Regions from separate parts of the Homo sapiens genome. Here all the other regions are linked to region 1. Evidence: promoter capture Hi-C in 16 types of primary human blood cells and fetal thymus (Javierre and others, 2016). All regions are on one chromosome and are shown on one strand. The core of a region is centred on a gene start or on the middle of the fragment in contact, and the rest is flanking DNA. Distances in the headings are between cores, read along the strand shown.

Region 1 (5,008 bases), core at 654-3,153:
TTATGCAGAGTTTGGGCTTCAGCTGAGTAATTCTAAGGAGGGATTAGGGGAAGGAAGGCAGTTTAGTAATTGAGTATCTCAGAAACTTTAATTTGGAGGAGAACGGAACAAAGGTAGGCCAAGGAAGCTATTCAATCACTCAAAAGATAGAGGTTATTAGTCATTTTACAGCTGTAATGCATCCTTGTGAGGAACATTTTTTGCTTGGCCTTGTCCCTGGCCTTGTATGTGTACATTACAGTCTGATTATTAGTTGGGATGATTTTTAGTTTCTCAATCCCTACTCTCATTGCCCCAGTTTAATTCCTCAACACCTCTCACCTAGATTATTGTGATACTCTAGTTTTATCTTTTAAATCCTTTATATTGCAAAGCAGAGTGATTTACCTAAAACACAAACACAACCACAATAAGCCTCTATTTAAAAAGCTTTCAACGGTTCACTGTTGTCTCTACAGAATGTAAACAGAGCGTCTTAACATGGCACACCAGGCCCTCCTTAACCTAGCCCTCCCAGCCCATCACAACAACTATATTCCTTGATATTCTCGAATTGCACTTTATTTTGTTTTGTTTTTTTGAGACGGAGCCTTGCTCTGTTGCCCAGGCTGGAGGGCAGTGGTGCCATCTCGGCTCACTGCGGCCGCCACCTCCTGGGTTCAAGCAGTTCTCCTGTTTCAGCCTCCAGAGTAGCTGGGACTACAGGCATGTGCCACCACACCCGGCTAATTTTGTATTTTTAGTAGAGACGGGGTTTCACCATGTTGGCCAGGCTGACGAACTCCTGACCTCAGGTGATCCACCCGCCTAGGCCTCCCAAAGTGCTGGGATTACAGGCGTGAGCCGCTGCACCCAGCCTCGAACTGCACTTTAAATTGGATAGCTGGGCGGGCGTGGTGGCTCGCGCCTGTATTCCCAGCTACTCGGGAGGCTGAGGTGGAAGGATTGCTTGACCCCAGGAGGTCGAAGCTGCAGCGAGTCGTGATTGCGCCACTGCACTCCAACCTGGGTGAAAGACAAGACCCTGTCTCTAATATATAAGAAATGAATAAATAAATAAATTCGATTGCCAAAATTCTTGCTGTTCCCAGCATATTCCACTTTCACCTTTCAGCGCCTTTGCTTATGCTGATCTGACTGTAACTGCATTCCCACCCTTCTCCTTCTGGGTAAAGGGCATCTTCTTTCCAAACTCAACTCTTAGCATCAGAAAGCTGTCCCTGATACTGCAGTTGAGTCGCATGTGATACTGAAAAAAAAAGAAAAAAGGAAAAAAAAGAGAGCTCTCCCTGAATCCCTTGGTGGACTATGTTAGGTAAACTTCATCTTTGCCTGCATCATATTATGTATTGGTTCTTCTCTGCCCCCTCGATTGTAAACTCCTCAGGGGCAGAGGTAACAGCTTTGCAGCCCTGGGAGTTAGGTTTGCTTAAGGGACCAGAACAGGTGTGACTGGCAGGGAGCGAAGTCTGGAGCTTTGTCTGAGGCGCTGATAGGTGGATCGGCGGAAGGACGCGGAACCTGGACAGGTCGGAAATAAAGCCGGGCGAGCAGCTCTGTGCGCGATGTGACTTCATGAGTGGATGCTGAGAAAAGCGGCAGAGTACGACTTTAACCGCCTAGCCACAACACGTCCTGCTAGGGCGAGGAGGGAGACAGTGATACAGCACTGGGCAAGTGCTGAAGCGACAATTACTTCTAGGGCGGGGTAAAAGCCCCAGAGTATTTTTGCTGGAAGGAGGTATTTATTTGAGCAGGGTTCTGGAAGACGAGCCGCCGAAGGGTACCTCCGGCTTTCCGTTTCAAGTCCCACGCTGGTGGAGGTTGCTCGGTACCCGCGCCTGCGCGTGCCCGTCTCGACTCTTAGGCCCGCCCTTTCCTGCCAGACCTGGAGGGGCGGGGCGGTGCCGGCAAGATGGCTGCGCCCGAGAAGATGACGTTTCCCGAGAAACCAAGGTAAGCGCCGTACGGGGAGATGAGCAGGCGAGCGGGCCGATCGTGGGCATGGAGGATGTGGTGGCAGGAAGAAAAGAGAAGCTGGGCCAAGCTAAGTGAGCCACCGCGGCAGCTCCATTCCTTCCTGGTGCGCGCTCTGGTGCCCTCCCCGGACTTGCACGGGCGGCTGTGGCTCAGGCAAGCGAGGAGAGGATCAGGTTGGCGGATGGAGAAGAACTGTCTGGGAGTGGGAGGATGAGGCGATGATAGATGGCTGTTCTGTAATTAAAATACAGGAAGCAAGGTTTCTCTCCTCAGCACCCGAACTATTTCCTTTCATTGGGCACAGAGGAGCGGGGAGCTCGGGCAGCGCTGCATTGTAGCCGCTGATCGTCGTGTATATGTCTTAATCTTCCAGCCACAAAAAGTACAGGGCCGCCCTGAAGAAGGAGAAACGAAAGAAACGTCGGCAGGAACTTGCTCGACTGAGAGACTCAGGTGATGGACTCTTTATTCTGTTTTCTGTGTTGTGAAATTGCTCTGTCCACTCCAGCCCTAACTTGAAGCCCCAGTGTCAGAAGGAAGTCAAATATTGTGTCGGAGGAAAAATAGCTGTGACTTCTGCCCCCAAGTAGTTATTTAGAAACACATGTCAGAAACAATGTTAACATACTAAAGGCAGGAAGAGGAAGTCTTGGTGAATGATCGCCCACTGATTCTGTGTAACTTATAAAGTATCTAATATTACAGTTGCAAGCTTCATGAATTACAGCAGCTAGCACAGTCCTTGCACACGTAGTAAGTATTCGGTGAATGTTTTTCTTCGTAAAACCAGCAGGAGTTGAAGGTATTAATTAGACGTTTTGCAAGTTTTTCTCAAACTTGACTAATATGAGACCCTTGGTTTACCCAAATTATTATGTTATTCAAATATATATCAACATAATACTAGTTATGAAGCTCATTTATTTATTTTTGAGACAGGGTCTTGTTCTGTTGCCCAGGAGGGATGTGCACAACCACGGCTCACAGCAGCCTCCACCTCCCAGGCTCAAGCAGTCCTCCCACCTCAGCCTCCCTAGTAGCTGGGACTACAGGCATTCACCACCACACCTGGCTAATTTTTTCTTTTCTTTTCTTTTTTTTTTTTTTTTTTTTTGAGACGGAGTCTCGCTCTGTTGCCCAGGCTGGAGTGCAGTGGCACGATCTTGGCTCACTGCAGCCTCCGCCCCCTGGGTTCAAGCAGTTCTCCTGCTGCAGCCTCCCGAGTAGCTGGGATTACAGGCGTGCGCAACCACACCCGGCTAATTTTTGTATTTTTAGTAGAGATGGGGTGAAACCCCATCATGTTGGCCAGGCTGGTTTCGAACTTCTGACCTCAGGTGATCCACCCACCTCAGCCTCCCAAAGTGCTGGGATTAAAGGCGTGAGCTACCGCCCCTGGCCCACCTGGCTAATTTTTAAAATTTTCGTAGAGACGGGATTTCACTGTGTTGCCTGGGCTGGTCTCGAACTCCTGGCCTCAAGCAATCCTTCCACCTCGGCCTCCCAAAGTGCTGGGATTATAGGCATGAGCCACCACACCTGACCTGAAGCCATTGTTTGACTATAAAACAATATATGGGCTGGGCGCGTGGTGGCTCATGCCTGAAATCCCAGCACTTTGGAAAGCCGAGGCAGATGGATCACCTGAGGTCAGGGGTTCGAGACCTGCCTGGCCAACATGATGAAACCCTGCCTCTACTAAAAATACAAGATTAGCTGGGCTTGGTGGCAGGTGCCTGTAATCCCAGCTACTCAGGAGGCTGAGGCAAGAGGATCAGTTGAACCTGGGAGGCAGAGGTTGCAGTGAGCCGAGATCCTGCCACTGCACTTCAGTTTGGGCAACAGAGTGAGATTCTGTCTCAAAAAACAAACAAACAAATAAAAATACATTTATAAATTATAAAACTAAATGAAATTACACATTCGGTAAAATTTAAATCTACATCAGGTAATGCTAGGGATGATGTGAAACTAATGCTCCTCACAATATGTATATGGCACTGATGGGAGTTTGGAATGCCTCTACTAATGTTGCCTTATAGTTATTTACCACTTTTTCTATGAAATTACTGTAGAACCTTTATTTGTACAGATGGTCATTTGACCTTCACATGGCAAAACCTAACATTTATGTATTAAATCTACCTGCTTAATGCAATAAAATTAGGACTTAGTTATAAAATTATGTAGTAGTTATAAATCCAGATGGGAGCACTGAAATCACACAGTAGTACTGGCTTATAATGATTGTCATCCGCATTATCCAGAATATGCTCATGAAATTATCCTAGACAATTCTTAAAATCCAGAGACCATGGCCTCAAGTAACTAGGATTCTTGGACCTTGAGAAACATAGCCATAGAGGTTTTATTTACCATTGGTGTTCCTGAGTAATTATTTTAGTGTCAGTACTGGGATATTTAGAATGGAAGGAGCAGTGTGTTTAACTGCAACCTGTGTTAGCATTTCTGTCTTATTAGTTGAAAACTCATCCACTAGAGGCAGAACAAAGCATCAGGGATAAAAGGAAAAGTAGAATAGGTTGGAGTTATTGAGGCCCTTATTGTACTTCGTCTCTCCCCCCTTGAAATTTTCAGCTACTTTACTTTGTTCATTTAATCTGTTTTATTCTAAATATTATATATTCTAAATTTGTTTTAACTTCTTTCTCTTTTTCTTTTCCTGCACTAAATCCTATAACAGCTGGTATTTGTATTGTTTTGATTTTTTTTTTCCTTTTTACTTAGCAAAATGTGTTCAGAATGAGCCTCTGTGGAGAGTCAGGCGAGTCATGTCCCATGGTAGTTTAGCCCATTTTAATGGACTAAATCCAGGTCACTGGTCTGTCAAGATTATGTAACTAATGGCATATCCAAGACTAAGCACCTGTCTCTGCACTTCTGCTCCTACTTTTGCCCACTCCAACTCACAATTCTTTGCCTAGTGGTACTTCATGAATACTGTAGACTATGGAACACTCCTGGTTTTTTTTTTTGAGACAGAGTCTCACTCTCTCGCCCAGGCTGG
Region 2 (5,008 bases), core at 1,351-3,850, 980 kb after region 1:
CAGAAAGCAACCAATCAGGCTGGGCGTGGTGGTTCACGCCTGGAACCCCGGCACTTTGGGAGGCCAAGGCGGGTGGATCACCTGAGGTCAGGAGTTTGAGACCAGTCTGGCCAACATGAGGAATTATCTCTACTAAAAATAAAAAATTTAGCTGGGCGTGGTGGCACGTGCCTGTAATTCCAGCTACTTGAGAGGCTGAGGCACAAAAATCGCCTGAACCTGGGAGGCAGAGATTGCAGTGAGCCAAGATCGTGCCACTGCACTCCAGCCTGGGCCACAGAGGTAGACAACTTCCCCACCCCCCTAAAAAAAAAAAAAAAAAAAAAAGAAAGAAAGAAAAGAAGGCAACCAATCAGAAATGCTTTCAATTTTCCATCTGCCGCACAGAAAGGTGGGGTGGGGGTGGGGTGGATTTGCAAAGGGAGTAGTTTACAATCCTTTTGTTATTTACCTGTGGAAAGTTGGGATGTTCCTTTTGACTTAGTTTTTTTTTTTTTTTTTTTTGAGACGGACTTCACTCTTATTGCCCAGGCTGGAGTGCAATGGCACGATCTCGGCTCACCGCAACCTCCGCCTCCCGGGTTCAAGCGCTTCTCCTGCCTCAGCCTCCTGAGTAGCTGGGATTACAGGTATGCGCCACCATGCCCGGCTAATTTTGTATTTTTAGTAGAGACAGGGTTTCTCCATATTGGTCAGGCTGGTCTCAAACTCCCGACCTCAGGTGATCTGCCTGCCTCGGCCTCCCAAAGTGCTGGGATTACAGGCGTGAGCCACCGCGCCCGGCCATTGACTTAGTTCTAGAAAGCCAGCTTGAATCGGCCTTAGGTTCCCTGCCTCCGGACCCTATTCTCCTGCCTCATATGCATAGAAAAGACTCGGGAGGCTTACACCAAAATGGCGGCTATATCTTTTTTTTTTTTTTTTTTTGAGACGGAGTTTCGCTCTTGTTGCCCAGGTTGGAGTGCAATGGCGTGATCTCGGCTCTCCGCAACCTCCGCCTCCCGGGTTCAAGCGATTCTCCTGCCTCAGCCTCCCAAGTAGCTGAGATTACAGGCATGTGCCACCACACCGGGCCAATTTTGTATTTTTAGTAGAGACGGGGTTTCTCCATGTTGGTCAGGCTGGTCTCGAACTCCCGACCTCAGGTGATCCGCCCGCCTTGGCCTCCCAAAGTGCTGGGAGTACAGACGTGAGCCACCCGCACTTGGCCATCTTTTTTTTATATATTTTTTTAACTATTTGTGGTTATGTTTTTGGGAATTTCTGTGCTTAACATAGTAGGAAAAATAAGAAAAATCGGTAATAATTTACATTTCCTTTCCTCAGACCTGGAAGCAGGCATTTCTTCAAGGAATCTTGATTCCTTTTGATGGGAAAAGCTATTTACTCTTCAAGAATTGTCAGCCTGGCGTGGTGGCTCACGCCTGTAATCCCAGCACTTTGGGATGCCAAGGCAGGAGGATCACCTGATGTCAGGAGTTCAAGACCAGCCTGAACAACATGGTGAAACCCCGTCTCTACTAAGAATACAAAATTAGCCAAGCGTGGTGGTGGTGCATGCCTGTAATCCCAACTACTTGGGAGGCTGAGGCAGGAGAATTGCTTGACCCCAGGAGGCAGAGGTTGCAGTGAGCCAAGATGGGGCCATTGCACTCCAGCCTGAGCAACAAGAGTGAAACTCTGTCTCAAAAAAAAAAAAAAAAAGAATTGTCCTGCAGACTGGGGGCAGTGGCTCACACCAATCCCAGCACTTTGGAAGGCCAAGGAGGGAGGATCCTTTGAGCCCAGGAGTTCAAGACCAGCCTGGGCAACATAGTAACACCAAGTCTCTACCAATAAAATGAAATAAATAAATAAAAATTAGCCAGGCATGGTGGTGCATGCCTCTAGTCCCAGCTATTTGGGAGGCTGAGGTGGGAGGATCACTTTGCTACCCGGGAAGAGTGTCCAGGTTCTTGGCGTCTTGAGCAAAGAATTAGACAAAACGCACAAAGCAAGGAAGGAATGAAGGGATTTATTGAAAATGAAAGTACACTCCACAGGGTTTGAGCAGGCCCAAGCATAGCTCAAAGGCCCTGTTTCAGAATTTTTGGGAGTTTAAAAATAACCTCTACTTGAGGTATGCCCTATGTAAATGAAGAGGATAAAGTAAAGTTACAATCATTTACTTGGCCTACGCCCTATGGAGAGGCTATTTCCTGTCATAGCTGAAGTGTGAATCGGCCTTATATTCCCTACCTCCAGATCCTATTTTCCTGCCTCAACTTGAGCCCTGGAGGTAGAGGCTGCAGTGAGCTATGATCACACCACTGCACTCCAGCCTTGGTGACAGAGCAAGACTTGTCTCACAAATTAATAATTAAATAAAAAGTAAATAAAATATGACATTGATCAAAACTTCATTAGTAGTATTAGAAGACAAAGTTGAGATCATCTACAAAGTACAGATGTTTCCTGACTTATGATGGCGTTATGTTCCAATAAACCCATCAGAAGTTGAAAATATCATAAGTGGAAAATGCATTTAATACACTTAACCTGGCCGGGCGTGGTGGCTCATGCCTGTAACCCCAGCACTTTGAGAGGCCAAGGCGGGTGGATCACCTGAGGTCAGGAGTTCGAGACCAGCCTGGCCAACATGGTGAAACCCCTTCTCTACTAAAAATACAAAATTAGCCAGGTGTAGTGGCACATGCCTGTAGTCTCAGCTACTCGGGAGGCTGAGATAGAAGAATTGCTTGAACCTGGGAGGTGGAGGCCACAGTGAGCCAAGATGGTGACACTGCACTCCAGCTTGGGCAAGACAGAGCAAGACTCCATCTCGGAAAAAAAAAAAATACACTTAACCTACCAAACATCATAACTTAGCCTAGCCTACCTTAATGTAAGCTCATAATACTTTGTTTTTTTGAGACGGAGTCTTGCTCTATTGCCCGGGCTGGAGTGCAGTGAGACGATCTCGGCTCACTGCAACCTCTGCCTCCCAGGTTCAAGTGATTCGCGTGCCTCAGCCTCCCAAGTAGCTGGGATTACAGGCGCCAGCCACCACGCCCGGCTAATTTTTGTATTTTAGTAGAGATGGGGTTTCACCATGTTAGCCAGGTGTGTCTCGAACTCCTGACCTCAGGTGATCTGCCCACCTCGGCCTCCCAAAGTACTGGGATTACAGGCGTAAGCCACTACTCCTGGCCAAGCTCATAATACTTATATTAGCCTACAGTTGGTCAAAATCATCAAACACAAAGCTGTTTTATAATAAAGTGTTGAATATCTCATGTGCTTTATTGAATACTTGTACTGAAAGTGAAAAACAGAATGGTTGTATGGGTACTCAAAGTCAAATTCATACAACTTTGGCACCATCGCAACATCAAAAATTGTAACCCTGGAACTGTCTGTAGCAAAACAGGATATAGGAAAATAGAAGAGAAAAGATAAGAAACATGGAGCAGGGCACCGTGGCTCCCACTGAGGTGGGAGGATCACTTGAGTCCAGGAGTTTGAGACCAGCCTGGGCAACAGAGCAAGACCCTATCTCAATTTTAAAAAAAGAAAAAAGAAACATAAAAAAGAAATTATTAATAGGATACTATACAACTAGGTTGTGAATAATATCTACATGAAAATAATGTAAAAAAAATTAAGATATTAAATTAACAAAATGAAAACAACCATTTAGAGAGGATGATGTGATGATGGGAGGAAGTGAGCATCTGTGTGTGTGTGTGTGTGTGTGTGTGTGTGTGTGTGTGTGACTGTGAGTGAAAAAGCATAGACCCTCTTCCCTAGAAGCAAATCTATATATATCTTTCTGTGATTTCAGAATCAGCTTGATGGCAAGTGACAGAAAAATCCAGAATTACAGTGGTTTAAACTGGATGCTGATTTCTTTCTTTTTCTTTTTTCTTTCTTTTTTCTTTTTTTTTTTTTTTTTTGAGTCTCACTCTGTCGCCCAGGATAGAGTGCAGTGGCACAATCTCAGCTCACTGCAACCTCTGCCTCCTGGGTTCAAGGGATTCTACTGCCTCAGCCTCCCGAGTAGCTGAGATTACAGGCTTCCACCACTATGCCTGGCTAATTTTTTGTATTTTTAGTAGAGACGGGGTTTCACCAGGTTGGCCAGGATGGTTCCCCTTTCTTTTCTCTTCTCTTTTCTTCTCTTCTCTTCTCTTTTTTCTTTTTCTTGAGACGGATTCTTGCTCTGTCGGTGGTGCGATCTCAGTTCACTGCAACCTCCACCTCCCAGGTTCAAGCAATTCCCCTGCCTCAGCCTCCCAAGTAGCTGGGATTACAGGCACGCGCCCCTACATCCAGTTAATTTTTTTTTTTTTTAAGATGGAGTTTCACTCTTATTGCCCAGGTTGGAGTGCAATGGTGCGATCTCAGCTGACCGCAATCTCCGCCTCCCGGGTTCAAGCAATTCTCCTGCCTCAGCGGCCCAAGTAGCTGGGATTACAGGCATGCGCCACCACGACTGGCTAATTTTGTATTTTTTAGTAGAAACGGGGTTTCTCCATGTTGGTCAGCCTGGTCGTGAACTCCCAACCTCAAGTGATCTGCCCACCTTGGCCTCCCAAAGTGCTGGGATTACAGGCATGAACCACCGTGCCTGGCCTAATTTTTGTGTTTTCTTTTTAGTAGAGATGAGATTTCACCATGTTGGCCAGGCTGGTCTCGAACTACTGACCTCAGGTGATCCACCTGCCTTGGCCTCCCAAAGTGCTGGGATTACAGGCGTGAACCACCGAGCCCAGCCCTTTTCTTTTCTCTCTTTTTTTTTTTTTTTTTTTGAGACAAGGTCTTACTCTGTCGCCCAATTTGACGCTGTAGTGGGCTAGGATGAAAACCACTATACTCCAGCCAGGGTAACACAGAGAAAGAGATTCTGTTTCTTAAAACAAAATGAAACAAAAAAAAAAACTTGAAAAAATTGTTCGGCTGGGCGCAGTGGCTCACACCTGTGATCCCAGCACTTTGGGATCACAAAATACAAAAATTAGCTGGGCGT
Region 3 (5,008 bases), core at 1,715-4,214, 920 kb before region 1:
TTTTCCCAGCTTTATTGAGGTGTAACTGCTAAGACAGTAGATATTAAGTATTGCTGCTGCAACATCTATTTTTAAAGTTCTTGGGATATGTTCATAAAACCTGCAGGCCATGAAATAACTGGCATTTAAAAAAAATAGAAACATATCTGGAAACAAATCAAACTAAGGTTCAATTTACAGGTTCTTAGTCCAATTATAAGCAACCCCTCACTATTTTAAACTCTGCTTATCAGGGCCCCAGGTTTACTATTCTAGCCTATGGGCTATTTGACTTTTTACTTATTAACATTATAACAGTGGCTGCAGAAGATACAGAAGTAACTAGGGGTGGCGGTGCGGGGCAGGGTGGCGGTGCGGGGCGGGGCGTGGAGACCAGAAAGTAGATTATTTATAAAATACTACATAATTAATTTGAGCTTTTCCTGTTCTATATTACCATACATCAAAGTTGACTATCTATTTTATACATAAAATTAAAACAGATGTGTGTGTATACTAGAAAAATGATAATATATACAAGCATATGCTAACATAAAAATAGTAGGCTGGCAATAAAATTATCATCCTCATCTACTCTTTACTGCCCCCCCTCTTAATAAATATGTTGTTCATTCTTTTTAAATGCTCATAAATCATTTTGGCCCTATAAATGTGACAATTCTTTAAATAAACTATCAGTGTGGTTCCAGATTATCCTAGAAGAGCAGATGACATCCAAAAAGTCTAAGAAACCATATTAACTGTGACCAAGAGAAAGTATCCTTGGGAAAAAAGTAAAATTAAGACACTCAACTAAAATGGCACCTAATAATACTGAACATAATTTTATGAAGATAATAATGATAGATGTTGTTTTTCCAAGACATATGACATTGTTAACCAAAGTAAATTAACTTTCCTACAAAATAGGGCCACTGTTAAAAGTTTTTTTCTCCCTACATAAGTTATTTATTGGGTCCTATACAGAATTGATCTCACCTTTTTCAACATTATCTAATATGCCTGAAATGTGAGTAAATGCGGGAGAATCGTGATCAACTAAATTAGAGGATTTGGGAAGATTACGCTAAAGAAGATTTTTATGTCATATTAAGGACTTATAAATTTCTCATATAAGTAATGATAACCCACTGAAAGACTTCAAAAACAGAAATCACAGGACTGTACTTTTGAGTTATGAAGATCCTGGTGACAGTGTTAAAGGTGTGAGTGAGATCAGACTGGAAAAAGAGCTAACAATTAGAAGAAAATTATGAGTACTTAAATAAAAGGGAGAGATGACTCTGAAGGTAATTTGGCAGTCAACTGAAATGCATATACCCAGTAGTTTCATTTGTAGATATAAACCCAGAGACATAATCCCACATATGAATGAATACATTGCTCTAGAAGCTCACTGTGCTGATATTTGCAATATAAAAAAAGTAAAAACCTCAATGAACACCAATAGGGGAATGAGTATAGATGGACTATCAAACAAGAGTTAAAAGGAATGAATTAGATCTATCTATCTATATATGTGTGTGTGTGTGTGTGTATATATATATATAATCATGGTTAAATTTCAAAAATAAAATGAATTAAAAATTAAGTTGCAGACAAATGTACACTGCAGCATATTATTTATGTAAAACAAATAAAACAGCATTATATATGTTCTATTTACCTACAATGACTACAGTCCCTGAGTGCTTTCTCAAGAAATAGTGCCATGTACTATTTTTTTTTTTTTTCCTGAAGAAACAGTGCCAGGTACTGCTCTAAGCACTTTGGATTAACTCGTTTCTTCCTCACAACATCCTTATGACATAGGCACTGTTACTATCCCATTTTATAGATGGAGAAACTGAGGCAAGGAGTTTCAGGATCTTCTCAAAGGCTTGCAGATAAGAAGTGACAGAGCCAGGATTCAAACCCAGGCAGTATGATCCAAAATAAAAAAATGTAAAACTGTAAACATTTCATGCCAAATTCTGAATGCTGTTGATTCTGGACAAGGAAGTGTCCAGGATAGGTGAGTAGAGGTAGAAGGAGACTTTAGTTATATCTGAAATATCTTTTAAGGATGTAGTCAAACAACGTTTAAACAATGTGTTCATTTTTTCCCATAAAAAATGTAAATATATTTAAAAGTCTAGGACAAAAGATGCTAACATGCCATTCTGTCATGGATGACTACGGTTGATGGAAATATGGGGGACTATTCTTACAACTTGTTTGTAGTTTTCAGTATCTTTCAACTTTAAAAAAGGCAATATTGTATGCGCAACTATTTTCTTTCAATTGTTTTTAACTGACGAATAAAATTTGTTCCAGTCCCTTTAAATCTAAATCTTTCTCAACCTTGACACTATTGACATTTTGGGCTGGATAACTGTTGTGAATTTTCATGTACACTGGAGGATGTTTGGCAGCTTCCCTGGTCTCTATCCACTAGTAGCCAGTGAGCATCTCTTTTGCCCCCGGCCCCTAGCAGTGGTGACTAAAAATGTCTCCAGAGGTTGCCAAAGGTCCCCTGGGTGGTAAAACCGCCCCCCCCACACACACCCCCCCACCCCCCCGGCTGAACACAACTACCTTAATAAGCCGAAACACGCTTTTTTTAACTTTATATAATTATTTGAGATTAAAGATTTCAGAGATATTTTGCTCATTAAGCATCTCACACTCCAAGTTGGAAGGATACTGAAGGGATGAAAAAAACTTCAAGCGAATGTAGCACTTAAAATCCAATTATCATTGCAAGGAATGACAGACCCAGGTCTCGGGATGCCCGCTTCCTTCCCTCTCTCCCGCAATGCGGGGACAAGGGGAGGAAATCCAGCCCCATCGCCCCCTCTGCGAAGTCCTGGGAAGGGAAGACTCGCCAGCCCCATCCTACCTCAACGCAGCGGCAACATACCGGAGGCCCCACGTCGATACGGTATCCATCTGCTCCAAACCTCCCGCCAGCGCGCTGCATCCTGGGAGGCCGGGCGGAGGCTGCGTCGAACGCAGAGGAGGCGGAGCCTAGAAGCCAGCCAGGAGAGGTGGCCAAGGGAGGCTGAGGAGGCGGGGCCCTGGGGAGTGTTGTGAAAGCAGAGAGCCCGCGAGCTCTCTAGGGCGGAGCTCCGCGGGGGAAGCGCCGGCGATCTCGCGGCTGGCGGGGGCGGGACCGCAGTGCGGGGGATGTCGCGGGGCGAGGCCAGACGAGAATCGAATGGGACCTAGGCTGAGGGCCTGGTCCCGCCTCCAGACCCAGGCGTCCGCATTGGATTGGGCGGTGCGGCGGCGCTTCTGTCCGCCTTCCGGTGTCACGCGACCGCCTCCCCCTCCCACCCTTCTCTGTCTACCTCTGGGCGGGACTGCCGGGTGATGAGATACTCGGTCGGCGACGGTAGAACGGGCGACGGCGACAACCGCAATCACATCCACGACGGTGATCATGGCAGAGGTGAGGAGCCTATTGCACCGCCGCTGGCCCCCCGGACCCGGAAGCCGCCTCTGAGGCCCGGGGACCGAGCGCCCGTGTGCAGGTGGGCTGGGTTGAGGGTAAGCGGGTTGATGCAAGTAGTATCTAAGGTCCCATCGTGTCTCCCATCCAGAATCACGCCCAGAATAAAGCCAAGCTCATCTCTGAGACCCGGAGGAGGTTCGAAGCTGAGTATGTGACAGGTGGGTACTCTGTTCCAGGTATTAAGAAAGGTGTGCAGTGAGCATCCCCAACTTTGCTGGAGTGTTTGTGAGTGTATTTGTGGGAGGTGTTAGGGACCCTTTCGACCCTCACAGGAATGATGCTGGGCACGTCTCAAAGGTTTTCCTCTCCATGACAAGCCGTGTGCACTGCTTCAAATGGTCAAGTGGTGTGTCCCATGCTCCCTTTAAAGGGTTAATGTAAGTTGGAAATCGGTTAAGTTTTTAGCATGCCCTCGTGTTTATGGAACTTGCAGGATACTTGTTAGGCCCACAACACGGGTGACATTGTCCAGTCCACGGTTCCACTGCTGGCCTTTCACCAGCAACACTAGCGAAAATGTACCTGGAAACTGCCATAATACTATTGATGTGTACTTAATTGGGTATACAAATTCCTTGGATATTTTGTTTGATTTGGCTTTCATACAACCCAGCATGCTACCCACAAAATAGGCCCTCCAATGCTGGAACAAGTTCTTATCCCAAACTGTATCTTGCAAAGTACCTATGAGTCCAGAATTGATTTATTGGTTGAACATTCTGTGTCCAGATGTCACAGATACTTGAGTTGTCAGGTACTTAACTGAATATTTAATGCTTGTACAGTAATTTTGTAAAACATACGGAATAACTTATTGTAAATATGGAATTAAATAAGGATTTATATGTTGCCTACCTTAAGATTGATTGTAATCCTAACCCTGCCACTACATAGCTTACTTGTCTATTCTGAGCCCGTTTTCATATCTGTGAAGTGCAAATAATAAAGTTAGTAGGATTAAATTTTTTAAAAAAACATAAACCATCTAGCATGTCTTAAAATATAGTGGATTCTCAGTGAATATTTTGCCTCAGTTGTCATTTTGGTTACTGTGAAAGGAGTTAAGCTTCTACATCTTGACTAGTACTCAGCAGAGGTTCCCTGCAACTTTAAACCATCCTAGATTATACATCAGTTGATGACATAGAACAAATATGGAAATCGGTTTCAAATACTTGTCAGTAAATCTTTTCATACCTCCTTGCCAATTTTCTTCACACCCCAAACTTTGTTCCAGAGAGTTGCAAAAGCACTTGATTCACTTTTCACCCAGAGTTCCCATTTCTAATAATATAGCTGGTTCCAATAAAGAGATCCTTCTTCAATTGCTTTCTACAGAAATGTAACTATTATAGCTGTTAATACATGGTTTATAATATTTTAAGAAGTAACTCAGAATTCGACCTAATGAGCTAGTAACACCCCAATAGTCATTTATTTATGCCCAAGGGAGGAAGCAGAATACAGGCAGAAATTAGGCAATAAACAAGATCTTAAAGGTCATCTTGGGGC
Region 4 (5,008 bases), core at 1,141-3,640, 890 kb after region 1:
ATCACCTGCAAAGACCACAAGTACTCCAAACTACCTTTCAAAATGCATGAAAATTAGCAATTAGGGTAAACTGAATCATTACAGAAAAAGTACAATGGTCCTATCCTAACTGGTGTGCGTGGGCCCTGGTACTCACTCAGCTTTGCATAGCTTCTGCCAAGCTTCATGAAATTTCACAGGGTCCTCGGTTTCAGTGATCTTCTCCAGATCAATGGAGTCTATGTACTAAAAAACATCCAACAGATAAAAGGAGTATTTAAGAAAAATAAACACTCAAAAATACTGCAGCCATCTAATACTATGACACATTATTCAATAATTACTTATTATGCAAACACTGTACTGGGCACTAGGGATAGAAAAACAGTCTCTGTTTTGCGGCTCTTATAATCTTTCAGAAAGATTACAAAACCAGATAAACGGGCATCCACACTATACTGTGATAATGGCTATGACAGACAAAGAAGAGAACGATGCAGAAGTAACTTGGGGTCAACCGCGTGGGGTGGCACGTGCCTGTAGCCCCAGCTACTTGGGAAGCTGAGGTGGGAGGATCCTTTGAGCCTGGGAGGTCCGGGCTGCAATGATCCCTGATTGTAACACTGCATTCCAGCCTGAGTGACAGAGTGAGACACTGTCTCAAAAAAAAATTTAAAAAAAAAGCAACTAGGACGTCACTAGAACTGAACACTGGAGGAAAGACAGGAAGGATTGACGTCAAGGAAGAGCTCTGGGGAGGTAATGTTCAAGAAGCCAGCCGAGAGGAGAGCAGAAGCAAGATAAGCACGTGTGTGATGGGAGGCAGCAGGAGACAAAGAGAGGAGGGGAGAAGGGTATGAAATCTCCAGCAGGCCGGGCGCATTGGCTCATGCCTGTAATCCCAGCACTTTGGGAGGCCGAGGTGGGCAGATCATCTAAGGTTAGGAATTCAAGACCAGCCTGGCCAACGTGGCAAAACCCCGTCTCTACTAAAAATATAAAAATTAGCCAGGCATGGTGGCAGGTGCCTGTAATCTCAGCTACTCGGGAGGCTGAGGCAGAAGAATCACATGAACCCAGGAGGCAGAGGTTGCAGTGAGCTTAGATTGTGCCACTGCACTCAAGTCTGGTCAACAGAGTGAGAGTCCGTCTCAAAAAATAAAAAAATAAAAATAAATAAAAAAAAAAGAAATCTCCAGCAAAGGAACCACTTATATGAAACCTCAGAGGAAAAAGAGAGAAAGTGGTAGCCACTCTGGGACCCTCAAAAAAGGCCCCACCCAGCGAGAGGACAGACCTGATTGGTTGGAGGAAGGCAAGGGACGAGGCTGAGAAGCCATGACACAGACTTGACACTTGAAGCCAATTGCAATGGTTTGAATGTCTGTGTTCCCCCAAAATTCCTATGTTGAAATCCCAACTCCCAAAGGAATGGTATTAGGAGGTAGGTGGGGTCTTTGAGGGATGATTAGGTCAAGAAGGCAGAGCACATAGGAATAGGATTAGTGCCCCTATAAAAAAGGCCCCATAGACCTCCCTCACCCCTTCCGCACATGGGGATATAACCAGAGGTTGGTCCTCTGCACCCAAAAGAGGGCCCTCACCAGAACCCGGCCACATGCTGGCACCCTAATCTTGGACTTCCAGCCTCCAGAACTGTGAGAGAGAAATGGCAGTTGTTTGTAAGCCACCTGGTCTATGGTACTTTGTTACAGCAGCCTGAACAGACTGAGACACCACTGAAAGATCTTAAGTAAAGGGACGACAGGAACAGAGAGAACCGAGAAAGATTTTACAATGATCACTCTGGTAGAGTGTGGCAAAGGCAGGGAAGACTGGCAGCTGGAAACCAGCCCGGAAGCCGCTGCAGCTGCAGCAAACCAGGAGAGATAGACAGATGCAGCCCAATCTTAGAAGGAAGATGACAAGGCCAGGATTCAAACAGTACTTAGGAGAAGCTAATGTCAATGAATCCTATCAGATGAAGCATCATGTGCACCAATTCTTATGTATATAACAGTCCCTCTCTATCTATATTAGTTTAGTATTTCTTCTGTAAAAATGACTCTCCTGGCCAAGCACAGTGGCTCACGTCTATAATCCCAGCACTTTGGGAGGCCGAGGCAGGTGGATCACTTAAGGCCAGGAGTTTAAGACCAGCCTGGCCAACATGACAAAACCCTGTCTCTACTAAAAATAACAAAATTAGGTGTGGTGGCGGGCACCTGTAATCCCAGCTACTCAGGAGGCTAAGGCACAAGAATTGCTTGAACCCCGGAGGTGGAGGTTGCAGTGAGCCAAGATCGCACCACTGCACTCCACCCTAGGAGAAAGGGCGAGACCCTGTCTCAAAAAAAAAAAAAAGAAAAAGAAAAGAAAAGAAAAAAAAAAGACTATTCAAATAAACTTTAAGATACAAATTTCTAAAGGCTTTATAAAATGTATATGTCATGGCAATTTTTCCATTGCCATTTTCTTTTTTTTACATAATGGGGCGGGCGACTTGAAGGAGTGGGAGGAATGGGAAGTAAACTATTCCTTAGAAAGCCAAAAGTAAAAAGTGATTAGGGGCTGGTCATGGTGGCTCACGCCTGTAATCCTAGCACTTTAGGAGGCCAAGGCAGGAGGAATTGTTTGAGCAGTTCGAGACCAGCCTGGGCAACATAGCGAGACCCCGTCTCTATAAAAATTAAAAAATAGGCCAGGCACGATGGCTCACGCTTGTAATCCCAACACTTTGGGAGGCCAAGGCAGGTGGATCACCTGAGGTCAGGAGTTCGAGACCAGCCTGGCCAACATGAAGAAACTCCATCTCTACTAAAAATACAAAAATTAGCTGGGCGTGGTGGCACATGCCTGTAATCCCAGCTATTCGGGTGGCTAAGGCAGGAGAATCACTTGAACCCAGAAGGCAGAGGTTGCAGTGAGCTGAGATGGCACCACTGTACTCCAGCCTGGGCAACAAGAGCAAAACTCCATCTAAAAAGTAATTAACTAATTAATTAATTAAAAAATAATAAAATAAAATTTTTAAAAAGTGATTAGGAAAGAAGGAGGCTAAAAAGAGGAGAGAGAAACAGCAGCTAGTTCTCCTAAGCTAGTGTCAAAGTGGAAGCCATTAAATTTCTTTAACATATAAATGGATCTTTTTACTCATTATACAAAGTTTTTGCCATTTAAGTCAAGATGATAAGACTTGCTTAAACAATGATATACTCATACTGAATATCATTAAATATAAATGTGAGATAGATATATAAATATACGTATCCAACTGGTAACAAGTGGGATTTCAGGGAGGAGGAATCTGCTTTCTGCATTTTAGATTTATGCTTTATTTTGTTTTGTTTTGTTTTTTGGAGACAGGGTCTCAATCTGTCACCCAGGCTGGAGTGCAGTGGCGCAATTATAGCTCACCGCAGTATCAAACTCCTGGGCTCAAGTGATCTTCCTGCCTCAGCCTCCCAATTAGCTGAGACTACAGGCGCATGCCACCACACCCGGCTAACTTTTTAAGTTTTTTTTATAGAGATGAGGTCTCCCATTGTTGCCCAGGCTGGTCTTCAACTCCTGAGCTCAAGCAACCCACCTGGCTCAGCCTCCCAAAGGGCTGGGATTACAGGCGTGAACTACTTCGCCTGGCTTATGCTTTGTTTAAATGTTTTACTCTAAACATGTACTACTTCCGTTCTTATATGGAAGAATATACTCAAGCTATATAAGATAACTACGCCTCTGTTATTCCACAATACTGAGTTTCCAAAACAAATAATCACTGTTTGCTAGCTATCATTCCTCCATGTTAGAGAGGGGAATATAGTATTTTAAAAAATCTAGATTCCATTCCAATGCTAAAGGGAAAAAATGTCCTATTATTTTCCTGTTAGGCAATTACGACGTACTTAAACGAGCATGACAAGCATGCTCATTCATCTGAATGTGCAAAGCCTACTTTCAGAAATGTGCCTTAAACCTACATGTAGAAAACAGCTTACACAGGCCAGGCACAGTGGCTCATGCCAGTAATCCCAGCACTTTGAGAGGCCAAGACGGGCAGATCACCTGAGATCAGGAGTTCGAGACCAGCCTGGCCAACGTGGTGAAACCCCGTCTCTATTAAAAATACAAAAATTAGCTGGGCATGGTGGCGGGAGTCTGTAATCCCAGATACTCAGGAGGCTGAGGCACAAGAATTGCTGGAACGGTGAAGACAGAGGTTGCGGTGGGCCGAGATCATGCCACTGCACACCAACCTGGGCGGCAGAGGGAGACTGTGTCTCAAAAAAGGAAAAAAGAAAACCGTTTACACAGCAAGCCTGGCTGCTGCCCTTGGAAAGGCCTGCTACAAGATTGAGACTTGACTGGCTTCTGGAAACTCTGATTTTGGGAGGGTTCCCATCATTCCAAGAACTGATAGGAGAAGCTCACTGTGCTGAAAGTGTCTGTACAGACAACATGGTTTCTGCTGCATGCTTTCCTTCTGGGAGGCTGGCATTTTGGGAAGTGCTAAGAAGAGGGTGCCTACGTGACCAGCCCCCAGTAAAAACCTTGGGCTTCAAGTCTTCAATGAGCTTCCTTAGTAAATGGCAGTTTGCATGTATTATCACAACTCACTGGACTCTACCAGGGGAGAGCACTTAGAAGCTTGCGCCTGGTTACTCCTAGACTTCACCCTGCACGACTTTTCCTTGGCTGATTTTGCTTTGCATTGTCTGGCTATAATAAATCTTAGCTATGAGTATAACTATATGATGAGTCCTGTGAGTTCTTCTGGTGAATCGTAAGTCCTGCAGGTGATCTCAGGGACCCTTTAACAAAACTTGCCCCTCTGGAACATGTGCTATTGGCATGAATTACTGAGATAGCCAAAAGACCAGGCCAGGACTCACCATCAGATTCAACTTGTGGTTGATGGCCAGGGCTGAGTGTTCCAGGGCTTTGAACACAGAGGCGTAGCAGTCTCTGAGCTTGGTGTATTTGCCAACCAGGGCTATGGAGCATATTTTCTGTAACCTTTCATACCTGGGAA
Region 5 (5,008 bases), core at 1,204-3,703, 850 kb after region 1:
ACTGCGGCTATCAATATCTTTAGGCTGTGACCCTATTTCAAGGCATTATTTTTTACTAGAGGACTCTTTACTTTCCTGTTTTTCTATTTAATCCAAGCATTGTAACTACTGGCCTATAAGTCAAATTTAAATGAAAAAAATGAGTAGCATTTCAATGCTTTCTATCAAAATTGTTAATTGTTTTCACAGGCAATGTAGGCAAATGTATTTTGTTCATAGCATTCTTGCAAAAATGTGCTGACTTGGAAAAAAGTCTACAAAAGAAATATGCCAATACGGGATGGGGGAATCCTACAAAAGAAATGTACCAGCTTATAAAAACATAAATAAATACATAAAATTCTACAAAAGAAATATGTTGACTAGGAGAAAAAAAAACGTTCATAAAACACTATCGGCCAGGCACGGCGGCTCATGCCTGCAATCTCAGCACTTTGGGAGGCTGAGGCGGGTAGATCACTTGAGGTTGGGGGTTCGAGACCAGCCTGACCAACATGGAGAAACCCCGTCTCTACTAAAAATACACAAAATTAGGAGGGCGTGGTGGCACATGCCTGTAATCTCAGCTACTTGGGAGGCTGAGGCAGGAGAATCACTTGAACCTGGGAGACGGAGGTTGCAGTGAGCCGAGATCACACCACTGCACTCCAACCTGGGCAACAAGAGTGAAACTCCGTCTCAAAAAACAAAAGAAAACAAAAAAACACTATCATGCTATATGTTTTGATATTTGTATGCCACTCAGTAGAGCCTTGCACAGTGGTCACATTCTTATCTCTGGCACAGCCTTTTTTGGAGACCTGTGGAAGACAGTGCTGCACAAGTGGGAGGGCACAAGTTCATATATCACATACTTCTTGGAAACTATGAAGCACAACTTAAATTTAAGGCAACATACTTTTCTTTCCCTTTAGAAAAAGGACTTTTTAAAAAATTAAGGAGAAAAAATTAAAGAAATTGTTGCCTGGAAACAACCCAAATGTCCACCAGCTGAGGAATGGATAAACAAAATGTGGTCTATCCATACAATGGAATATTATTTGGCCATTAAAAGGAATGAAGTACTGATACATGCTACAATGTGGATGTAGCAAAAAAACATTATGCTAGAAGAAAGGAGACAGACCAGGCATGGTGGCTCACGCCTGTAATCCCAGCACTTCAGGAGGCCAAGGTGGGCAGATCACCTGAGGTCAGGAGTTCGAGACCAGTGTGGCCAACGAAACCCCGTCTCTACTAAAAATACAAAAATCAGCCAGGCGTGGTAGTGGGTGCCTGTAATCCCAGCTACTCAGGAGGCTGAGGCAGGAGAATCGCTTAAACCCAGGAGGTGAAGGTTGCGGTGAGCCGAGATCATGCCACTGCACTCCAGCCTGGGCAACAGAGTGAGACTATCTCAAAAAAAGAAAAAAGAAAGAAAGAAGCCAGACACAAAAGACCACAAATCATATGGTTCCATTTACATGAAATGTCCATAATGGGCAAACCTATAGACAGAAAGTAGATTAGTGGTTGCCAGGGGCTGGCGGGAAGTAGGGATGGTGACAGCTAATGGGCACAGGGTTTCTACAGGAGGTGATGAAAATATCCTAAAATTGCGGTGATGGTTGCACAATTCTGTGAATGCACTAAAAAAATCAGTGAATTGGGCCGGGCGCGGTGGCTCACGCCTGTAATCCCAGCACTTTGGGAGGCCGAGGCGGGCAGATCACGAGGTCAGGAGATCAAGACTATCCCGGCTAACACGGTGAAACCCCATCTCTACTAAAAATACAAAAAAAAATAGCCGGCAGGCGCCTGTAGTCCCAGCTACTTGGGAGGCTGAGGCAGGAGAATGGCGTGAACCTGGGAGGCGGAGCTTGCAGTGAGCCGAGATTTCGCCACTGCACTCCAGCCTGGGCGACAGAGCCAGACTCCGTCTCAAAAAAAAATAAAAAATAAAAAATAAAATCAGTGAATTGTACACTACTAATAGACAAATTATATGATGTATTATATCTCAATAAAGTTGTTTTCAAAATTTTTCAAAACAAGCTTTGCTGCTGTGTTTAAGATTCATGAAAATCATCAAATCATCAATATTTTTATGTCTACTGTGAAGAAAAACAAATTTTACTTTTTAAATTGAGACGGAGTCTCACTATGTTGCCCAGCTGGTCTCCGACTCCTGGGCTCAAGCAATCCTCCCACCTCAGCCTCCCAAGCAGCTGGGACTACAGGCACATTACACCACATCCAGCACTAAGAAAAACAAATCTTTTTTACCCAGGCTGGAGTGCAGTGGCACCATCATGGCTCACTGCAGCCTCAACCTCTTGGGCTCAGGTGATCGTCCCGCTTCAGCCTCCCAAGTGGCTGGGACCACAGGCATGAGCCACCATGCCAGGCTAATTTTTGTATTTTTTGTAGAGGCAGGGTCTCCCCATGTTGCCAAGGCTGGTCTTGAATTCCTGGGCTCAAGCAATCTGCCGGCCACAGCCTCCCAAAGTGCTGGTGTGAGCCAGTGCGACTGGCCAAGAAAAATCTTAAATCAGACTTATATCTATCAAATTTTTAACTATATTGAGTACAATGCTCTTTTTAAAAACTTAGTACAATTATCACTGAATCTTTCTCAATAGATATAATTTTAGGACATTAATTTTTCACCAACCATTTTTTGTCACGTAGGCAATTACTTGAACAAAGTTTCATAGAATCTGAAGACACCTGAAAGCTACAGAATTGCTAACATTCATGAAGAAAAAAAGTTCTTATATAGTATGTGTAAGGAAAAATGTTAGTGACTTAGAGAACAATGGCTTTTTATGCAGAGAAAGGAGGAAACTGTATTCACTTTGAAGCCTTTCCTTTTTTAATTTCATTCTGGCTAGGAAGCTTTCTATTCCTTAGAAGGTTTATATTCATCTTTAAAGGAAAAGCTCATATTTCTGGTCTTACTCTTTCTTGAGTTAAGAAGGCATTTTTCTGAAGAATTCTTGCCGGGCGTGGTGACTCACGCCTGTAATCCCAGCACTTTGGGAGGCCGAGGCGGGCAGATCATGAGGTCAGGAGATCAAGACCATCCTGGCTAACACTGTGAAACCCCATCTCTACTAAAAATACAAAAAATTAGCCGGGCGCGGTGGTAGGCGCCTGTAGTCCCAGCTACTCGGGAGGCTGAGGCAGGAGAATGACGTCAACCCAGGAGGCGGAGCTTGCAGTGAGCCGAAATCGTGCCACTGCACTCCAGCCTGGGTGACAGAGCGAGACTCTGTCTCAAAAAAAAAAAAAAAAAAGAATTCTTATAACTTCACAGGATTCTAAGGGATTCTTATAATTTCACGAAAATGACACTGAACACTCACAATTCCTGAGCTCCCTCTCTGCATCCGGTCCCCTTAGCAATCTGCCTTCCCCTTTTGTCACATTTCTTCCCCTTGTTTTGAGGCCCTAGGAGGGCAGGGCTGGTATCTGTCCTGGTCACTATTATATCTGCACATGGCACAGAGTGGGCACTCAAGATACATTTATTAAATTGAATTAAAGGCTTTAGTTTGTTTTAAACAATAAGTTATTCTTATATAATATGCTAATTTATGAAAAAGTTCCACAGAAATTAGAATTAACCTTATGGGGAGTGGAAAGATCAGCAAATATCAAATGGCGAGCCATCTCCCCACACTGGGGCTGCCAGGGAACAGAGAAATACGCTTCTGAGGTGCATAACTGCCCTCCTACTCGGAAGTTCATTTGTGAGTCACTAAGACCAGGCAAACAGACATTAAACAGGGAACCGGTTCAAATGTAATGGAGAGAACTGTGGATTCAAAAGAACTGAGTGTGAATCAGTCCAAGTCCCAGTCCAAGTTCATCTCCAGGAGCATCGGTAACTCACAAAACAGCCCAATGAACAGGGAGTCACGCAGATCAAATGCGGAGGGGCATTCAGTGTGTTCTACTGAGGCCAGCCCAAGGGACAAGCTTACTAGGGAGAAGAATGCCCAGAGCAGAGGGTCAGTGAGGGCAGGGGAGATGGGAAGAGAGAGAATCAGGGCCCTCCGAGGATGCTGGAAGGGGCAGGGGGAGTCTCCACCACCCAGAGTGCTGGGCACCTGCAGTCACATGAGCCACATCCAACATCTTGTAAAATAAACAATATGGGAAACTTACTTAATATTGAATTTTCAGTTTTGAAAACAGTTCTTCTTATTCCCAGTCTCATTGTTCCTCCCAAATTGCCAGGGTTGTGCTCGGGCATATCAATCACCTTAGAAAACAAAACAAGTCCAGTTTTGCCATCTTGTAAAAATGTCATTTCCCAAATTTCAAGCTTTACGTTTAAAGGAATGATCATTGGGTAAGCATGGTCCCTAAACTATAACATTTGATCAGTCTTTCCAACGATCATGTTCAAATACAGGCATGACATAGACACACTGCACATTGTACTTCCTTTCCATCTGCTTCTCATCTTTCATTTAAATCACTTATAAAACAATGTATCAGGAGCATCTTGATGATGTCCCTCCTGCCATTACTCAAACCATCAGTTCCAAGTAGTCCTCACACTTCGAGATCTGGATTGCTGAGGCCTCCCACTTCGGTGTTCACATCTTTCATGATAACCCTCTTCCCCCACTGCCCAGTGCATTCCCTAAAGATTTTCCATAAGCAAATCTATCAGTACTTGTACTGTGGAAAGGTATACCAAAAGAACCTATTTATAGAAAACCATTAGAGGGATTCCAAAAAAAGAGAAAGAAAGAAAGAAAGAAAGAGAAAGGAAAAGAAAAGGAAAAGAAAAGAAAGAAAGAAAGAAAGAAAGAAAGAAAGAAAGAAAGAAAGAAAGAAAGAAGAAAAGAAAAGGAAAAGAAAAGAAAAGAAAGAAAGAAGTATCATCCAGTCTAGCACACTCTGTAGGTCGGAAACTTAAGTGGCACCCTTGATCGCTCCCTCTCCCTCATAGCCACTCTGTCAAGTCCTGTGGATTTATCCCCTCCAGAATTCCCGCATCCATCCACTTCTC
Region 6 (5,008 bases), core at 752-3,251, 660 kb after region 1:
TTCACAAAGAACATGTATTACTATTATATGTAGTGGAAGGTGTTATTCAAAAAGAAAACACTTTAATGCTGATTCCATTTTAGACCAAACATATATTGCTAGTACTTTCAAAACACTTACTAAATCATAGACCCTATCATAAGAAATGTGTACCTATTAATCCCCTCAACAACTCCATGAGGTAGGTTCTATCATTATCCCTTTTCGAGAAAATAGAGACACAAAGATTAAGGAACCTACACAGAGTCACACAGCTAGTAAGTGATGGAGCTGGGATTTAAGTTCAAGCGCTTTGGTTTTCAAGTTCATGCTTTTAACTAGTATTCCAGGAGTGAAAAACGAACGTGACTGCTATTACTGTCTCGTATGGCTCTAAGGGTCCAATTACACAAGCAGCCTGCCTTGGGAGCAAATTATTGGTCTCTTAGGCTGTGGAGTCCTGAAGGCAAGAACTATGTCTCATCCATCTGTGTTTTCATTAGCTTTTGCTGCGTAACAGTCCACCCTAAGCTTAGTGACCTAAAAACTACAGCCAACTACGTGACTCGCAATTCTGTGGGTTGGCAATTTGGGCTGGGCCTTTCTTTTGCTGGTCTTCTGCTATACTGAGTTAAGCCGTGCCAGTTGGCTGCTGGTCAACTAGGTGTCTCAGCTTCTGGAAGTTGGCTGGCTGTCAGCTGAGGTAATAGGAGCCCCTGGGGTCACGGATCTCTCATCATTCAGCAGGCTAGCTTGGGCTTCCTCACACGACAGCAGCGGCAGGGTCCCAAGAGCCTCAAGAGTGGATATGCCCCAGTGAGCAAGAGCTTTCAGGTCTCTGCTTGCATCACATTTGCTATTGACCCATTGGCCAAAGCAAATCAAATGGCTATGCCCAGAGTCAATGTGGGAGGGGACTGCCCAAAGGCATGGATACAGACAGGTAAATAATTTGTGGCCATTTATGCAATCTACCAATATCCCCATAATCAAACACAGAACCTTATAAATAGTAGACATGAAATAAATACTTATTGAACTGAATGCTATCTCCCCTTCATGAAAAATCGAGATAAGACCAATAATCTCTTTCCTCTCTACACTAAGTACACCACATCAAGGAGACAGAAGAGGCTGGCTGACCCCTCCTCACAGAGGGTTACCTCACCCTGGGTGATGGAGCCCATCACTTGACAGTCACCTCATAACCATGGTCTTCTCAGCTCCTGGGGTGAGGGGTGCGTTCTTACTGGTGGCTGCTTCCCTAATGCTCTTAGGATGGCAGGACTTGCTCTTCTCAGTGGTTCCATCAAGCTCCCAAGGGGAGTCCCTTGGCCCCCTGCTTCTGCCAAGTCCTGCAGTGACACCTTTATGAAGCAGCTCAAATTAGCAGCCCTGCTCGCCCTCTAGTGGTTTCTTAAGGCTGTACAGCCCTTTGAAGAAAAGTGTTCGAGGCCTTCTACAACTGTACCAGAATAAATAATTGCGGGTGCTTTGGATCAGTGGTTTTCAACAGGGCGTGATATTTTCCTGCAGTGGACATTTGGCAGTGTCTGGAGACATTTTTGGATGTCACAGCTTAGGGGTGGAGGCTGGCATCTAGTGGGTAGAGGCCGGGGATGCTGCCAAACATCCTACATTGCACAGGACACTCCCATAACACAAAATTGTCCAGTCCAAAATGTCAATAGTGCCACAGTTGAAAGATCTTGCCTTATATTCAGAGTGAGCCCTCATTTGTTTTAAGGATGCACCCACAGGCCCACCCAAGGTTGTTCCATGGATGGATCACCCACTCTGGGAAGAGTCAATCTGTAGGAAACAACCCTAAAGTCTCAATGTGAAACTTAAATCTCAGGAACAATTCCTGGGGCATCCCATGATTCTCCAGGTTGGACAGACAAACTAAGCGCTAAACAGGAGCTTGGTTACAGGCAAGAACATCTTACTGTCTCTTTCCATTATCTATGCTCAATCCCATTGATTCAGAGAGCAATTTTCTCAGGAAAGAAAAGTGCTTTAAAGTTTTTATTGTAAGCCAACTAATAGCCCTAGGAAATAAAAATGTCTTCCAGTGGAGAATTGCACCGTGGGACTTCTGTGTGAACCATCAGAAACCTTTGATAAAATTTATATTAGTTGTGTAAACTAAAAAAAAAATTCTAAGCCCCCCAACCATCTGAAAGGACCCCTTCTCTCAGCCAAGGACATTCCAAAGAACCTGAAAAACTAGTTCAGGCAATGATGGGATGCCGGGGCTGGCGGGGTTGGGGGGCAGTGGGGGGCATAGTTGGACATGCCTCCTTATACCCGCCTTGCTTTGGAATTCAGGCACAACTGACCAGCATTCACATTACAATAGACATCTTAAGACTTTGTAGCAATAAGACACCGAATTCCAGCCTGACTCTATTATAGCATCACTTGACAGATAGCAGGCCCTGAAAGAAATTGAAGTATTTTACCCTAAAATATATTTTTTGACATATTTTGAAATGGCCCTGCAATGCTGTCTCTTGTGGGGAAAATCTACATTCTGGAAAGAATCCCTTTACTTTTCCAGGTCTTCGTCCTGATCCAGGAGAGAATTAACTAATAGTCTGGCACCTTTTTAAGTCTAATAAGAAATATTTACAATCTATTTTCTCTGAAGCCTGCTACCTAAAGGCTTCATCTGCATAATAAGAACCTTGGTCTCCACAACCCCTTATCTTAGCCCAGACACTCCCTCCCATAGATTCCAGGCCTTTAGAAGAAGTCTTTCAACCAATTGCCAATTGGAAAATCTTTGAATTCACCTCTGACCTAGAAGCCCCCACTTCCAGTTGTCCCACCTTTCCAGACCAAACCAATGTACACCTTACATGTACTGATTGATATCTTATGTCTCCCTAAAATGTATAAAACCAAGCTGTGGCCCAACCACCTTGGGCACATGTTCTCAGGACCTCCTGAGGCTGTGTCATGAGTACGTCCTTAACCTTCTCAAAATAAACTTCTTTTTTTTTTTTGAGACGGAGTCTCGCTCTGTCTCCCAGGCTGCAGTGCAATGGCGCGATCTCAGCTCACTGCAACCTCTGCCTCCCAGGTTCAAGTGATTCCCCTGTTTCACCCTCCCTAGTAGCTGGGATTAAGGCGTGTGCCATCACACCCGGCTAATTTTTTGTATTTTAGTAGAGACGGGGTTTCACCATGTTGCCCAGGTTGGTCTCAAACTCCTGAGGTCAAGCAATCCACCCACCTCAGCCTCCCAAAGTGCTAGGATTACAGGCGTGAGCCACCGCACCCGGCCCTCAAAATAAACTTCTACATTGATTGAGACTTGTCTCAGTTCCTTTTTGGTTTACAGTTGCAAGGAATAAATGACAGGCATCCGGTTTTAACAAAATAACACTTGTTCCATGCAGGAAGAGAATTTCTTAATGTCAGAGAAAGAACACCAAGAGCCGAGGGAAGGAAAGCTACACAGACACTGATTGCTGTGGCAAGTCCATGTAAAAAGCAACAGGAAATGAAAGCTTTCACTCTAAGCTTTTAGCAATGTTAATTAGAGGAGAGTGGCTGACATTTCCCTAGAATGGAACATAAACTAAAATTTACCTAGGAATTTTACTTCTGAAATTTTCTCAGAAGAATTCAACAGTAAAGGTGCTTCTTATTAGCTCTGGACTTTATTCCTTATCTACTATTTTCTTATACTCCCTTATGCTAGTAGCTAGGAAAATCCTCCTCACTCATTACTTCAAGATCCTCATTCAAGAATGAGGCAGGGAGGACAAGCAGGAAATGAAGCGTTCGTGGCTCCTGCTGCTCTTTGCTTTCTCCTCTTCTTACCAGATCCTGAGGCTTCCAAACACCCTGCTCTCCCTCTCCTCTCTTCTTCCTCCTGTTTTCTTCACTTCACCCTTGCTGGACCCCAGAACCCCTGAATGGCAGAAACCCCAGGCATGGCGTGGAGATATGGTCAGCCTTGGGGTTAAAGGTACATCGCTCCCTCCACGCCCCCCAGGGTTTGCTGTGTGGCTCAGATAGGACTTGGGAAAAGGCCTTCCTGCTCTGATCATTCTCCCAATGCAAGGCCAGCTCTGGGATTTGGACCCATCCAAGGAAGAGCCAAGAGTCTGTCCCCAGCCTCTTGCCTTATGAACCCACCTCCTATGTTGGCCCTGTCCTCTAATATCCTCTACACTGGCTGCTACCTGTGACTGCCTAGACTTCTCCAAGGCTTTCCAGACCTTGCCCATAGTAAGCCATGGAGCAGCAGTCAAGTAGCACCCAGGCTCAGGCCTTAGGGGAAGAGTTTCTCAAGAAAAGTTCCCCATTGGGTTCCTGATTGGGATTCCATCACTACTGGTTATTATTCCAGAGGCATCTTACTTCAGAGAGACTTTAAGGAACAATGAGGCTGGGCTCTCTGTTTAGGTCAGGAGCCACCTCTGGCTGAACTTAATTTCCAGGATGTCACAATAAGGTCAGAATCCCTGTGTCAAGTGGTAGCTATGGAGTGGAAAGAACAAAGACAGCTTACAAGCTCAGACAAAATGGTGACCTGAATGTATATGGAAAACAACATGAGCTTTTGAGTTATAAAAAGCTCTCTATTGAGGGCTTATTCTGTACTAGATACTGCACTAGGCATTTTATAAACATTTTCTCACATGCTAGCTGTGTGACCTTGGGCAAGGTGGTTAACCTCTCTGTTTCTGTTTCCTTTGCCAGGTAGAAATACCTACCTTGAAGAGTTGTTTTGAGGATTAGTCAAAGCAACATACAGGAAGTTCCTGGCACATGGTAGGTATCTTAGCCCAGGCTGCCATAACAAAATACCACAGAATGGGTGACTTCAACAACAAAAATTTACTTTTCTCACAGTTCTGGAGGCTGGAAGTCTCAGATCAAGTTGCTGTTTGATTCAGTTCCTGGTAAGGGCTCTCTCCTTGGGTTGCAGACAGACAGCTGACAGATCTCTCTCTCTCTCTCTTCCCCTTCTTATAAGGGCATTAATTCCATCAAGAGGCCGGGCGCGGTG

The links. Contacts are between HindIII fragments. The CHiCAGO score rates a contact against its expected background, and 5 or more counts as called.
Region 2: a fragment that was not itself captured here is called in contact with the fragment with the promoter of ZRSR2 in region 1 in 2 of 17 cell types (total CD8 T cells and total CD4 T cells); the score reaches 6.1 in total CD8 T cells.
Region 3: the fragment with the promoter of FANCB here is called in contact with the fragment with the promoter of ZRSR2 in region 1 in 1 of 17 cell types (total CD8 T cells); the score reaches 6.5 in total CD8 T cells.
Region 4: a fragment that was not itself captured here is called in contact with the fragment with the promoter of ZRSR2 in region 1 in 4 of 17 cell types (non-activated CD4 T cells, fetal thymus, total CD4 T cells and 1 more); the score reaches 9.4 in non-activated CD4 T cells.
Region 5: a fragment that was not itself captured here is called in contact with the fragment with the promoter of ZRSR2 in region 1 in 1 of 17 cell types (erythroblasts); the score reaches 5.0 in erythroblasts.
Region 6: a contact is called between a fragment that was not itself captured here and the fragment with the promoter of ZRSR2 in region 1, in 8 of 17 cell types (total B cells, fetal thymus, naive B cells and 5 more). The highest score is 11.1, in total B cells.

What each region holds. Positions count from the first base shown.
Region 1 is chrX:15,788,581-15,793,588 of GRCh38, forward strand. It overlaps ZRSR2 (zinc finger CCCH-type, RNA binding motif and serine/arginine rich 2), which reads left to right and starts at 1,904. Exons shown (of 11, transcript NM_005089.4): 1 at 1,904-1,956; 2 at 2,354-2,433. The coding sequence starts at 1,916. RefSeq lists enhancers at 1,782-2,231, 2,890-3,391. The HindIII fragment of the contact is 2,263 bases long and covers 428-2,690 here.
Region 2 is chrX:16,772,721-16,777,728 of GRCh38, forward strand. No RefSeq gene overlaps it. Among named protein-coding and RNA genes, the nearest start is that of TXLNG, 11 kb to the right of the region's middle. The HindIII fragment of the contact is 6,934 bases long and covers 1-5,008 here.
Region 3 is chrX:14,870,105-14,875,112 of GRCh38, forward strand. It overlaps FANCB (FA complementation group B), which reads right to left and starts at 2,965. Exons shown (of 10, transcript NM_001018113.3): 1 at 2,882-2,965. MOSPD2 (motile sperm domain containing 2) reads left to right here and starts at 3,317. Exons shown (of 15, transcript NM_152581.4): 1 at 3,317-3,433; 2 at 3,585-3,654. The coding sequence starts at 3,425. RefSeq lists a silencer at 3,055-3,284. The HindIII fragment of the contact is 4,870 bases long and covers 1-4,560 here.
Region 4 is chrX:16,678,226-16,683,233 of GRCh38, forward strand. CTPS2 (CTP synthase 2) reads right to left here. Exons shown (of 19, transcript NM_175859.3): 9 at 4,869-5,001; 10 at 137-225. Among named protein-coding and RNA genes, the nearest start is that of S100G, 31 kb to the left of the region's middle. The HindIII fragment of the contact is 4,462 bases long and covers 160-4,621 here.
Region 5 is chrX:16,634,995-16,640,002 of GRCh38, forward strand. CTPS2 (CTP synthase 2) reads right to left here. Exons shown (of 19, transcript NM_175859.3): 14 at 4,153-4,249. Among named protein-coding and RNA genes, the nearest start is that of MIR548AM, 10 kb to the left of the region's middle. The HindIII fragment of the contact is 843 bases long and covers 2,033-2,875 here.
Region 6 is chrX:16,443,986-16,448,993 of GRCh38, forward strand. All of the region lies in intron 1 of LOC124905249 (a long non-coding RNA gene), which reads right to left. Among named protein-coding and RNA genes, the nearest start is that of MIR548AM, 180 kb to the right of the region's middle. RefSeq lists enhancers at 1,292-1,491, 2,561-3,086, 3,087-3,612. The HindIII fragment of the contact is 2,987 bases long and covers 509-3,495 here.